3 separate regions of the Homo sapiens genome follow, and all the other regions are linked to region 3. The links are contacts of gene promoters, found by promoter capture Hi-C in blood cells and fetal thymus (Javierre and others, 2016). All regions are on one chromosome and are shown on one strand. The core of a region is centred on a gene start or on the middle of the fragment in contact, and the rest is flanking DNA. Distances in the headings are between cores, read along the strand shown. Region 1 overlaps ABCA4 (ATP binding cassette subfamily A member 4). Region 2 overlaps SLC44A3-AS1 (SLC44A3 antisense RNA 1). Region 3 holds the start of ABCD3 (ATP binding cassette subfamily D member 3).

Region 1 (2,700 bases), core at 1-2,500, 340 kb after region 3:
ATTGGAGTTAGATCAAAATACAACAAGCAGGCCCCAAAGGCCTTCATTCCAAGCAGTCACCAAGTGGGGTCACTGACTTTGGATGAGAAATATGTTTCTTGAATTCTGGGAGAAGTCTAAAAGCTGCCACAAGACCAGTGGCTTCCTGGAGTTTCCTACTTTTATGAATTCACTCAAGGGCCTCAAATTCAAAGAGGCATCTCCCCAAGGGGCCAGCTCTGTAACTCCAAAGATGGTGGAATGTGTTTGTCTGGTCTCATTTTCAGCTTTGCAAAATGAAGACAAGAGTTCTATATATCAGGGACACTCAAAAGAAAACAAAAATATCCATAAGCAAAAGAAAGCTTTTTATACACCATATTCAATGACCCCCATCTGGCCCCTCCTTTGCCCCTACACATCTTCCCTCTATTCTAGAGACCCATGGACTTGGGGAAATGGGATATAGATAGGTATGTTTCATAGTGGAACAAGCTCACCAGCTCTTCAGGGAGCCTTAGCATCTCTATCCTCAATCACTAAAAATTAGAAATGGCTGAAGAACAAGACCAAAGATCCTATGGAATTTCTAAGCAGAGCAGTGACTGTATTTCTTCTTCCCAAGGATACCCTGGGGAACCCAACAGTAAAAGACTTTTTGAATAGGCAGCTTGGTGAAGAAGGTATTACTGCTGAAGCCATCCTAAACTTCCTCTACAAGGGCCCTCGGGAAAGCCAGGCTGACGACATGGCCAACTTCGACTGGAGGGACATATTTAACATCACTGATCGCACCCTCCGCCTGGTCAATCAATACCTGGAGGTAAGGGGCTGCAAGCCCCACAGTGGGCCCCTTGAAGATAGCCCCATGAGTGGGGCCAGAGCTCCCTTAGCAAGTCAAGTGGTCTTGAATTTAAGCTTTCATTTTCCCCACTGAAGAAACAAGAATCCCTACATCCCCTGTACAGTTCTCATTCTCTAACAGCTTATCCATACTTAAAACTTATCTATGCTGAAAACGGTTTCCTCTTCACATCTCCTACTTCTCATGCTGGGCACCTCCTCCTGTAGCCCCCTTTAAGCATCTGTGTCTGTCCTCAACCCTCTTCTGTCTGACATTGCTTGAGTGGCCATCTATGGCCAGTGTCCCCTCAACCCCACAGTCCATTGCTTGCTGGACACTCCTGCCCTCAAGTTCTACAAGCACATCAGCCTCAACATGTCCCCTCCAAAAACTGTATGTTCTCCTTGCCCATAGAACATATCCTTCTCCTATATTTCCTATCCTAATTAACGTCCTCAGCATTTGCCCGAATTCTCAAGTGAGGGATTTCAGGGTCATCCCTAATTTTCCTTCTTCACCCTCCACACAGTAGCTGTCACTTACTGAGTGTTACTTTATGCCAAGTACTGTGCCAACTGCTTTTACACACATATGCTTCATTTAATTCTCACAGCTCCATGAGGCTTGCACCATTATCATTGCCAATTTGCAGATGAGAAGCCAGGGCTTAAAGAGGTTAAATAAGATCCCACGCATGACCATTAAGAGGAGCGAACAGGATCCAGCTCTGGGGGTGCCTGAGTTCAGAGCCTGCCTTTCTGATTTCTCTTACCAAGCTTTGTCTCCTCTCCCTCCTAAATATCTCTCAACTCTGCCTCTTGCATTCCAGGCTCTCTGAGGACTAGAGGCCTTGTCATCTCTGCGCCAGCCCATTCCAAGGGCTTCCTTCCTGGAATCCAGGGTCCAGCCTCTGTTGGCCCAGGCATTTCTCTACACTGGCACCAGAGTTACATTCCGCACACCTGCTTACGTTGCTCTCTCACTTAAAATCTTAATGACTCGACCCCCAAATAACACAGGTCCCTTCCAAATCTGTCCTACCCCACCTTCCCAGCCCTTGCTCAACTCTGCTACCTGGCCCTTTCACGCCTACAGGCATTCCCATTCCATGACCTCTTGGGATTCTACCCTTTGCAAATGCTGTTTTCATTGCCCATTTATTAGAGCGCTTTTGGTCACAAGCTTTTTGCTTAACCAAAAAGAAAGCATTTATTGGTGGACATAAATAATGAAGTTCAGGAGGATCCAAGAGTTGGAAGCCACCATGAGACCCCTGTGTCCTTCCACCTCACTTTTCTACTCGCCTCTGCTCAGCTTCATCTCTGGCCAGGCCCTCTCCTCTGCTGATGCCCTAGCTGCTTACAGCCCTTAGCAGTCATCTATACACCAAAAATCCCTTTCCCATAGCAGAAGCAATGCTCCTAGAGAGTTTCCCTGTTGGTCTGGCTCCTGTACCCACCCCTGTGTACTCTGATTGGGAGGCCTGGGTCAGCTGCCCACCATGGGGCCATTTCTATGAGCAGGATTACTGTGAAGTGGAGGAAGATGTTTCCCCAAAAGAAGAAACACAAGGTAGAAAAGTGTATGTCCACCAATGCCTGAAATGACTGTCCCTTTCCTCATCTGCTGAGCTTCTACTCATTCATTCTTTGAGACTCAGCACTCAGCTCTTAAATGTCACTTCTGCTTTGATGGAGGTTTAGTCATTCACTCCTCTGTGCTTCCTGGCCCTCTCTTCACACCTCTCTCAGACCCCTCTCCCAGATAGATTAGAGTTGGCTGTTGACATGTCCATCTCTGGCTGGGCAGCTAAACTGGAGTTATTTAGAATCAGGGAGCACATGTCAGTCATTTTCAAATTCTCAACCTCATACTCC
Region 2 (2,700 bases), core at 91-2,590, 300 kb before region 3:
ATTTGGTTGATCTCTGACCCAGCAATTCCTGGAACTTGCAGAGATTTGTCCTACAGGAATAATCAGATAAAGACACCACGTTTATGTAAAAGAATATTAATTGCAGGCCAGGCACGGTGGCTCATGCCAGCACTTTGGGAGGCCAAGGCGGGCGGATCACCTGAGGGCGGGAGTTCGAGACCAGCCTGACCAACATGGAGAAATGCTGTCTCTACGAAAAATAACAAAATTAGCCGGGCATGGTGGTGGATGCCTGTAATCCCAGCTACTTGGGAGGCAGAGGTGGTTGCAGTGAGCCGAGATCACGCCATTGCACCCCAGCCTGGACAACAAGAGTGAAAGTCTGTCTCAAAATATATATATATATTAATTGCAACACTGTCAAAATAGTTAAAATGCAAATAATTTGAACTTTCATCAGTATTGGTTTGGTTAAAAAAAATCATGGTGCAGCCATATGATGGAATATTATGCAATTGTTAAAAGAAAAAAAAGCAAATCCCAAGAGATTTATGTTTTTACAAGGAAAGATGTCCGCAATATATTAAGTGAAAGAGGCAGATTGTAAAGCATTTTATCCATCTGCTCATCCATCCTTCCTTTCATTCTTTTATTCTACAAAAGAGGTGAAAAAATGTATATATATATATCAGACCACTAACAGTTTTATCACCATATTGTCACTGGATCAAGTTAGACTTATTAGGGACTTCCACATTCTACTTCATATTTTGGAGATTTTACAAGCAGATATTATATTTATAGTAATAGCAAAAACAATAAATACTGCCAATCTGGGAGACAGTTTTTCTTCTTGCTTATTAAAGGGCAATTTGAGAGACTTTCCTCTGCTAGCATGTGAGAAACTGGCTGCCACACAGGTAATTTCTGAGGGACCTTGGCTTGGTGGTTTAGCTCCTGATGGCAGGTCTCACATCGCATGGATTAGTGCTGCATTTTTAATGCAGTTTTCTACTTACTCTTTAGAAACCACAAGACAACATTTCACAATCTATTTCCACCCAGCAGACAGGAAAAAACTACGCTCAGTTTTCAACTATCAGTGGAAAAGAATTGTTTGTATAAAAGGAATCTACAAATAATAGACACTTTATCCATTCCTTTTTATCTCTTCCACCTACATTTCTCTCAACCATTCTTTTTCACTTGTTACCAAGACCAAAATAAACTGATTTACAATTTCTCTTTTGCTCATCCTCAATGTGCCCTAGGCCTGACTTGTTCTTAGAGAACCCTCTCTGGCTCCTGTTGGTTAATGGTTTCTTTTTAACCAAATCACAACAGGTTAATTAATACGAGTTTACAGTTTTTCTTGGTATTGATGGCGTGCTCATTTGACTATGGCTAATGGAATTTCATCTTTTTCCTTTCTTAGGAAACTGAAAGTACAGTGTACTTTGTCCACCATATTGGTGACTTTATGTTGACTGAACCTGTTAAGATGGAAGGGGCGACAACTCTGGATACCTGTTAGGATTCATGTTTTTTAGAGTGTGGGAGATAAACCCTTTAGGGCTAAAAGTCTGCATCACCTCATCAAGCAAGCCACCTACACCGCCAGAAGTACTTGCTGGGAGTGGAGGGATTCTAGAAAGAGTGGCAGAGCAGGGAGATGATGAATATCAGCCACAGCCAAGGGACCACTGCAAAGGTTTATGTTAACCACTCACACAAATTTATGTAAAAGAATATTAATTGCAACATTGTTAATAATAGCTCAAATGCAAGTAAGTCAAACTTTCATCAGTAGTGGCTTGGTTAAATGAATAATAATAAATCAGTGGCTTAGTTGAATAAATCATGGTATGCAGCCATACCATAGAATATTATGCAATTGTTAAAAGAAAAAAGCAAATCCCTAGAGATCTAAGTTTGATCCCTAGAGATCAAATAAGTTTGACTTATTTGCATTTTAGCTATTATTAATGTTGCAATTAATATTCTTTATATTCTTTTTTTTTTGAAATGGAGTCTCACTCTGCCACCCAGGCTGAAGTGCAGTGGTGTGATCTTGGCTCACTGCAACCTCCACCTCCCAGATTCAAGCGATTCTCCCACCTCAGCCTCCTGAGTAGCTGGGATTACAGGGGCGTGCCACCACGCCCAGCTAATTTTTGTATTTTTAGTAGCGACAGAGTTTCACTACGTTGGCTAGGCTGGTCTCGAACTCCTGACCTAAGGTGATCGGCCTTCCTCGGCCTCCCAAAGTGCTGGAATTACAGGCATGAGCCACTGTGTCTGGCACAATTAATATTCTTTTGTAGAAACTTGTGTGAATGGTTTACATAAACTTGTGTGAGAAGAGATGTATCTTGTCTCACTAACTCTTATCTTGTTAAGTTTTCCCCCAGAAACTGTGAGTGTCCACCCTCTTGAAGGCGCAGTGGCGGAATGAAGTTCACAGAATGGAAGATGTGAGCTGGTCTGAGTGATGCAAGGGGTGGTCTTGGGTGGGCTCAGTTCCTGCTCCCTCAGAGGCCTTTGGATCTATTTTTGCTGTTTCTGTGAACTCCGCCAGTGCTTTTTGGTGCTTTTGCTTCAAACAGCCCCATACCCGTGACTCTCTTTGGAAGACTGCCATCTGGTTACTACACTGCTTTGCCCACAGGTGCAGAGCCCAGACATGCCAGGAAGTTTCCATCTTTTTAGGGCATCCCTTAGCCAGAGACCAACAGTTTA
Region 3 (2,700 bases), core at 109-2,608:
GATAAAAACAGAAGGCGGCTAGAAAGAACTTAATGGAAAGGGTACTATAAACTAGAAGTCTATTTGTGTTTTAGCCCAAATTTTACTACTAATTAGATATTGTAGGCAAATCAAACACGGGAGGCAACAGTACCTGCTCAGAGGAATGAATGAAATAAAATTCATGAAAGTAGTATGTCAAGATTTAATACGAAATATTCAATGACTGGCAAGAACGCTTGGGAAGTAGCCTTTTCTCTTTCACTTGTCCAGCAAATAAAAATTGCATGTATGTGACATACATACCTGTATGTCGCAACCGTAATTCAGCTCTCTCTTTTTTACTTTTTCTGAACTGATAACCTCCCAAAGTTAAATCTAAGCACTGAAATTCTCCCGCGGTGGAAGCAGTGGCGTGTCATTAAAAAGGAGCTTGATCCTCACCTAAACCACACTCTCATCTTTCACCTACAGAGCCCAGGAAGGAAAACATTTCCCTCTAAGTCCGACAGAACCGATCCAGCCTTTCCGGATGAAATGCCACCGACCAAATGTTCACCGACCAAAGGGTTCACCGACTCCAAGGGCTCACCACTTTAGACGGCAATCCTGCCAAGTGGACCGGGAATAGTTTCATAGAAGCCACCCTCGCGACTTTCAATAGCAGTTAGTCGGGAATCGAGCCAAACCTCGTCCAAGTGACTTAGACACCAGCCTCCAGCCTGGCGAATCCAATCCCCATCCTCAATCACACATCCACGTCCCCAAAACAAATCCTTCACGGTCTGAAGATGAGATGGCAAAACCAGAACACACCCAGAAAGTTGACACAGAAGGGGGTGATGTAGGGAAGGGGGTGGGGGACACACCGCATCCCCCTCCCACCCCCAACTGGAGGCCGCTGCCTGAGTGCTGGCTGGGCGCCGGTTCGCCCGCGGGCACAGAAGAATTCGCACTCCCGGGGTGGAGCGAGGTCGCCGGACAGGCCAGCTGGGACCGACGCCGTCGTGGCGGGGACTCGCGGACACCCTGACATTGAAGTCCCACGGCAGTCGCGGTCGGCCCTCTCTCCGCCCGACCCCGTCGGGCAAAGAGACCTGTCGGCCGGGTGGGGAGAGAGAGCGCGCGGGGAGCGCCCGCTCCAGCCCGGGAAAGCTGCACGGCTACGGGCCTTCTTACCCGTGCAGGCCGAGGGCGCGGCGCCGCTTGTGGAGCAGGCAGAGCAGCAGGAACGCGGCACCAGCCAGCGAGGAGTTTCGCGCCGTCAAGTACTTGCTGAAGGCCGCCATGGCACTGCCGGTACCAGCGAGCCGGCGAGGGGACGCGGCGGCGGCGGCGGCGGCGGCTACCTTACTGCACGCAGCGCGGGGGAGACTGGGAGGAGAGCAGAGGGCGGGGCCGGCCGCGCAGGACCGCCCCCTGGCTCGCGCCGCCGCGCCGCCCGCGCTCTGGAGCCCACTTTGTACTTTGGCCCGGCGGGAGCGCGCTCGGCAGCCTCCGTGGGCGGAACAGTTCCCGGGACGCGCTCTGCGCACGCGCGGACTCCTTCAGGGTCTCCGGAAACGCGGCGCGGAGGAGCTGTTGCTACTCAGCCCTGCGAGGCGTCAGTGCTGCCCCTGCCTCACCCCTACCCTCCCACTCTTCGCGCGCACACCCCGGCTTTCACAATAACTGGATGAGCGGGCCTGGCCTGCAGCGACGACCTAGTGGGCCCTGCCTCTCCACTCCCGCGGTGATGTACCGTTACCACCCTCTTAAAGGAGCCCAGGAAGGAGGCGGACGGCCCCGTCACAGAGCGTGTAGGGAAAACACAGCACAGTGATTATCAGGACGAAACCAAACAATCGGAACTCCGCAGAGGTGTAGGGAGATGTGAGGAGAATGACACAGATCAAAGAGCTTTTTCCAAGCCAGTATTTTCCAAACCGCGGGTTATAATCTCTAGCGCATTGTGAAATTGGTTTGGTAGATCGGGATCATCACCCTCCGTTTTTAATAAAATTGAGAATAGAACAAAATAGAAAAGTTTCACAGTACATCACGTAGTAAAGGAGTTGTTTAGAGAAATTTCGATTTCAGTGTTTTGCACGTATGTATCGCCAGCGGCGATGTAAAATGTATGCAGATCTGGTCAGAAAAAAGTTTGAGAAACACTGTTCTTTGCAAAGGGACATTCAGAAGTAACAATCGTGCGTTGTATTAATGCTGGCCTCACTCCCAGAATCAGAAGGGCTTTGCAGATTACAACATTCTTCTCCTGTCTGACCCTATGTTGCAGGAATTGTTATCGCCAGCATTGAGCCTAGCATATATACAGTAACAGTGAATCGCTGTTTTCAGCTGAGGAAACTGGAGAAAAGCAAGTGTGTCAGAAAATAAGCTCATAAAACCTCGCATAATGCACATACATATTAAAGTAGCCTACAAAGTAGTGGTGCTGTGCCCTAGGTGTTTTCTCAATATAAATGAGCTGTTGCCTAATACAGGTTATGAGGATCACAAAGACGAGGTACAATAATGGCATGCGTATAGAGGTGCTCAACAGTGAATTCTAAATTATGCAGAACTGAAGCTCCTACTAATTCACTATTTGTCATGTGGACATTTTCATTACCTGGAGGGACAAAAGGTTTTGGCCCTCTGAAAGTTAACTGAAAACCGCTGACATAAGGCAGATTAATAGAAGAAAAAATTAATAGGAGAAAAGGCATACAAATTTAA

The links. Contacts are between HindIII fragments. The CHiCAGO score rates a contact against its expected background, and 5 or more counts as called.
Region 1: a contact is called between a fragment that was not itself captured here and the fragment with the promoter of ABCD3 in region 3, in 2 of 17 cell types (fetal thymus and monocytes). The highest score is 10.5, in fetal thymus.
Region 2: a fragment that was not itself captured here is called in contact with the fragment with the promoter of ABCD3 in region 3 in 1 of 17 cell types (monocytes); the score reaches 5.8 in monocytes.

Annotation. Positions count from the first base shown.
Region 1 is chr1:94,075,792-94,078,491 of GRCh38, reverse strand. ABCA4 (ATP binding cassette subfamily A member 4) reads left to right here. Exons shown (of 50, transcript NM_000350.3): 11 at 605-802. All of the region lies in intron 1 of LOC124904222 (a long non-coding RNA gene), which reads right to left. Among named protein-coding and RNA genes, the nearest start is that of ABCA4, 44 kb to the left of the region's middle. The HindIII fragment of the contact is 702 bases long and covers 900-1,601 here.
Region 2 is chr1:94,715,463-94,718,162 of GRCh38, reverse strand. The region is part of intron 2 of SLC44A3-AS1 (SLC44A3 antisense RNA 1); the gene reads left to right. Among named protein-coding and RNA genes, the nearest start is that of MIR378G, 29 kb to the left of the region's middle. The HindIII fragment of the contact is 9,375 bases long and covers 1-2,700 here.
Region 3 is chr1:94,417,047-94,419,746 of GRCh38, reverse strand. ABCD3 (ATP binding cassette subfamily D member 3) reads right to left here and starts at 1,358. Exons shown (of 23, transcript NM_002858.4): 1 at 1,159-1,358. The coding sequence starts at 1,268. RefSeq lists enhancers at 767-906, 1,378-2,169 and a silencer at 1,237-1,616. The HindIII fragment of the contact is 10,166 bases long and covers 1-2,700 here.